Linked DNA regions of Homo sapiens: region 2 is linked to region 1. The links are contacts of gene promoters, found by promoter capture Hi-C in human tissues and cell types (Jung and others, 2019). All regions are on one chromosome and are shown on one strand. The core of a region is centred on a gene start or on the middle of the fragment in contact, and the rest is flanking DNA. Distances in the headings are between cores, read along the strand shown.

Region 1 (2,594 bases), core at 69-2,568:
AAAAGTGTATCATTACTTGCATTTCAAATCCTATGACAGTCTTATCCAACTCTCTGCTAACAGCAATCTGTTTACTTTGTCTCTACACAAGACGAGATAAAGGGTGATATTCGTAATGGCCCAATTTATTTAGTCACTCCAATAATGACGTCTGACCTTGGCACAGCACTTTACAATTTAAGGTGCTGTCCCCATACATAATTCTTGCTTGATCTTCACAGCAACTCTGAGAGATTTCTGGGCAAGAATTAGTTCTTCTGTTTTTGAAATTAATTAACTGAGACAGGATGTCTTTGCAATACATTAGGATATGTCAGGATGGCTAACCCAGACAATTAATTTTCAGGGTTAGTTTTTTTTTCTCTTACATTTTTGTGTTGACTGTTGACTCAGTCTGAAACTAGTAAACTCTCCATTCATTTCTCCTGTGGGACATAGGCTTAGTCTCCCACCGCACCGACTGGGGATACATAGTAAAAAGGCAGGTACAGACTATGTGTGGGTCGAAATCCCCCAAAATAAGTGAACAAACGACCGTTGTCTTAGCCCCTGTCCAGAAACCTTGGGTGTATGTGGTTCTTCCGTATACCAGGGGTCAGCTGTAAAAACTAACTGTATCCTCTGCACTACAGACTACCCTTCAAGCCAAAGCCACGGTTGCTTAATTAATGCTGCCCCTCTCCTGAGCATTCGCCCTTAGAGACAAGTCCACCCCTTTGATGTTTGTCAGGCAGTTTGATACTGATCATACCAAACATCAGGAGCCTGCATTTGTGTCTACGGTAAAAACAACCCAAGACAACTCTTCTGAAGCTGAATCTGCCAGTCACTCTAAATCTGCACTATTGCAATACGACTTCATTAATTACTGCTCAAACACTGGCCTAGAATCAAGGTGGGGCAACTTTCACTAGTCAGGCTAACCTTACAGGAAGGCAAGAAGGTGTTCCCAGAGCCTCACAGGTCCCGGGGGCCCCGGCCTGAAACAGAGCAAAGGAAGAGAGTTACATCAGCACGCTCCCCTAAGACTTGTTGGGGGTGAATCCGCCCTGAAAGCTGCTCACAATGCCCTCCTCTCCACCCAGCCCATGGCACATCCTGAACACATTTCCCGGCTGAACCCAGAGGGTGGCGCTGCCGTCCCAGCCTTGGTCCACGGCCGCCCGCCACTTCCCTGCCTCTGCGGGAGCCCCCCAGCTTGGTCTCCCGCAGGCCGGCGGTGGGGCACGAGCCCGGTAGGGGGCGCCGCCGGCCCAGGCGCCGCTGCTCCCTCCGCCCACCCGGAGGCGGCTGCCGCTAGCCGAGGCCGGCGCGAGTGCACTGCGAGGCGGGCCGCAGGGAGGGAGGCGCGAAGAGGGCGCGAGGGTAGCAGCCAGAGGGAGCCGCCAGCCCTGCCTGCGGATCCCCGCCGGGCGCATGGGGCGCTTCGAGCCGGGACTGCGTGCGGGCCCCGAGGCCAGTTTCCTGCTGTCGTAAGAAGCCGCGCCAGGACGCCCGCCGGACCCCGAGCTGCTGGGAGGATGACCATGGCTGGGGGCAGGAGGGGACTAGTGGCCCCTCAAAACACGTTTCTGGAGAATATTGTTCGGCGGTCCAATGGTAAGAGGTGCATTCGGATTTCGATTACCCGGGCGTTTTATCCGTGCCTTTATTGCAGAACCTCTCGCCGCTCGGAGCCAGCAGATGCAGCAGAACCCGCGAGCTCTGCTAAGGAGCCGCGGCGCGGGCACCCAGGGCAGCCTCCCCGAGGCAGAGAAAGGTGGGCAGGGCGGGGCGGGGTCTGATGGGTCCCCATCCTAACAGGAGAGCTCTTCTGGGGACGCCTTTTGGGCCTTTCTAGCGCCCTCTCGGTCTTATCTCCAAGGATGCGTGACAGCTGCTGAGCAAAGTACTGGGAAAAGTGATGGAAAGCTGGCTGCAGCCGGAGCGGCAGCGCGCGCCCCATCGGCACTGCCCACCCTTCCGCGAAGGCTCTGGGGCTCCCGGGCTGCTCCCAGAGGCGCCGCCTCTCCCCAGGGAGAGCCAGCAGTAGAGACGGGCAACTCCAGGTCCCCGCTGCCTCAGAATGGGAGGATCCGGCTGCCTCCACCTTCCATCCCTGCAACTGAAAAGTCCGAGGTGTCGGGACGTGCTCTCGGCGGCCTGATTCCACCCCTTCACCCACCCACCACTTTCTAGGTGAAGTTAAGGCTCACCTTCGAAGTGAGGGGCAGATGGTTTTCCTGGCGTCAGGTGGGAAGTGGAGGGCACAGGTGCAGAGCGAACTAAATGGTCACAGGTACAAACCTGTTATATTTCCCCTCTTCCAAACCCACAACGGTTTTATGCCACCCTTAAGTGTTGCTCACCTATAAATTCCCAATCTCACCAAACCTATAAATAGATCCATTACCCAATAAACTGACAATCAGCACTCATCTGTTTCCTTGTGGCATTAAGATCGACGGTAGCATGAAGCCTTGAGAGGCGAGAGTCCTAGGAGCGGGGATGGAAAGGAAGAATTCCAAACGCCTTTCGGACTTAACAGAGGAGAGACCCCAACTAAGCACTTGCAGAGCGACTAGGAGTCCTGGCAGTTGGAAGGCGCAGCGCAC
Region 2 (2,594 bases), core at 25-2,524, 170 kb after region 1:
GAAAAATTTATAACCAAAAAAGAGTAAATAAGAATTCATAATGTACAGAAAAGGTAATGTGTCATAATAAAGTTGAATTTATTCCAAGAATATACAGGTGGTTTAATATTAGAAAATTTATAAATCTGATTTATTACATTAACAGATGAAAGGAAATAATCCGTATAATTAAAGATGCAGAGAAGGCAAAAAGTCAAAAACATTTCCTGATAAAAGCTCTTAGCAAATTAGGAATAAAAAGGGATGTCCTTAATTTGATAAGGAATATCTACTAAAAATCTTCTGAAAACATCATTGTAATGGGGGGATATTTTAAGAACATTTTATTTAAAATTGAGAACAAGACAAGAAACTACCATCAGAGTGAACAGGCAACCTACAAAATGGGAGAAAATTTTTGCAACCTACTCGTCTGACAAAGGGCTAATATCCAGAATCTACAATGAACACAAACAAATTTACAAGAAAAAAACAAACAACCCCATCAAAAAGTGGGCGAAGGACATGAACAGACACTTCTCTAAACAAGACATTTATGCAGCCAAAAAACACATGAAAAAATGCTCATCATCACTGGCCATCAGAGAAATGCAAATCAAAACCACAATGAGATACCATCTCACATCAGTTAGAATGGCAATCATTAAAAAGTCAGGAAACAACAGGTGCTGGAGAGGATGTGGAGAAATAGGAACACTTTTACACTGTTGGTGGGACTGTAAACTAGTTCAACCATTGTGGAAGTCAGTGTGGCGATTCCTCAGGGATCTAGAACTAGAAATACCATTTGACCCAGCCATCCCATTACTGGGTATATACCCAAAGGATTATAAATCATGCTGCTATAAAGACACATGCACACGTATGTTTATTGCGGCATTATTCACAATAGCAAAGACTTGGAACCAACCCAGATGTCCAACAATGATAGACTGGATTAAGAAAATGTGGCACATATACACCATGGAATACTATGCAGCCATAAAAAATGATGAGTTCATGTCCTTTGTAGGGACATGGATGAAATTGGAAATCATCATTCTCAGTAAACTATCGCAAGAACAAAAAACCAAACACCGCATATTCTCACTCATAGGTGGGAACTGAACAGTGAGATCACATGGTCACAGGAAGGGGAATATCACACTCTGGGGACTGTTGTGGGGTGGTGGGAGGGGGCGGGGATAGCATCGGGAGATATATCTAATGCTAGATGACGAGTTAGTGGGTGCAGTGCACCAGCATGGCACATGTATACATATGTAACTAACCTGCACAATGTGCACATGTACCCTAAAACTTAAAGTATAATAAAAAAAAAAGAAAAAAAAATTGAGAACAAGACAATGTTCACTGTCATAGCTTCAAGTCAATATTTTGTTCAAATTCCTAACCAATACAGTAAGAGAGAAAAAAGAAATAGTTGTAAGGATTGCGAAGGAAGAAACGAATGAAGAAAAATTAAGTGAAAGGATATTCTCTGACAGAAATTAAGACTTCTTATAACCTAATAATTGGGACAATATGGTATTGATTCAGGATAGACAAATTGACAGATGGAACTGAAGAGAAACAGATCCGTATATCAGGAAATATGAAGAATAAAGGTAGCATCACAGGTCACTAGGGTAAGGAAGGACCACTCAATAACTGGTTCTGGGATATTTGATTATTTGTAGAGATAAAGTGATTTTTTTTCTCCCTCATATCACATGTAAACAAGAAGCTTCAGATAAAATAAAAGCTTAAGTCATTTGTCTTAAGTGTGAAAGGCAAAACTTTCAAACTTTTAGGAAAACCCCTTATATCCTTTGCATAGCAGAGGGTATCTTTTTACTATTTTTTTACAATTTGATTGTATTTTACTTTATTTTACTTTAAGTTCTGGGGTACATGTGCAGAACATGCAGCTTTGTTGCATAGGTATACACATGCCATGGTGGCTTGCTGCACCCATCAGCCCATGATCTACATTATGTATTCCTCCTAATGCTATCCCTCCCCTAGCCCCCCAACCCCTGACAGTCCCTAGTGTGTGATGTTCCCCTCCCTGTGTCCATGTGTTCTCATTGTTCAACTCCCACTTATGAGTGAGAACATGTGGTGTGTGGTTTCCTGTTCTTGTGTTAGTTTGACATGAACTCAATCGTTTTTTATGGCTGCATAATATTCCATGGTGTATATAAGCCATATTTTCTTTATCCAGTCTATCATTGATGGGCATTTCGTTGGTTCCAAGTCTTTGCTATTGTGAACAGTGCCACAATAAACATACATGTGCATGTGTCTTTATAGTAGAATGATTTATAATCCTTTGGGTATGTACCCATTAATGGAATTGCTGGGTCAAATGGTATTTCTAGTTTGAGATCCCTGAGAAATTGCCACACTGTCTTCCACAATGGTTGAACTAATTTACACTCCCACCAACAGTGTAAAAGCGTTCCTATTTCTCTGCCTCCTCTCCAGCATCTGTTGTTTCCTGTCTTTTTAATGATTGCCATTCTAAGTGGCGTGAGATGGTATCTCGTGGTTTTGATTTGCATTTGTCTGATGACCAGTGATGATGAGCATTTTTTCATGTGTCTGTTGGC

What was found. Contacts are between HindIII fragments. The study calls those that stand out against the background at their distance.
Region 2: a contact is called between a fragment that was not itself captured here and the fragment with the promoter of KCNH1 in region 1, in 1 of the 25 tissues and cell types used here (hippocampus).

The regions. Positions count from the first base shown.
Region 1 is chr1:211,132,872-211,135,465 of GRCh38, reverse strand. It overlaps KCNH1 (potassium voltage-gated channel subfamily H member 1), which reads left to right and starts at 1,318. Exons shown (of 11, transcript NM_172362.3): 1 at 1,318-1,599. The coding sequence starts at 1,521. KCNH1-IT1 (KCNH1 intronic transcript 1) reads left to right here and starts at 2,092. Exons shown (of 2, transcript NR_046784.1): 1 at 2,092-2,278; 2 at 2,440-2,594. RefSeq lists silencers at 1,137-1,416, 1,911-2,101. The HindIII fragment of the contact is 15,184 bases long and covers 1-2,594 here.
Region 2 is chr1:210,966,598-210,969,191 of GRCh38, reverse strand. All of the region lies in intron 6 of KCNH1 (potassium voltage-gated channel subfamily H member 1), which reads left to right. Among named protein-coding and RNA genes, the nearest start is that of KCNH1-IT1, 170 kb to the left of the region's middle. The HindIII fragment of the contact is 3,496 bases long and covers 1-2,594 here.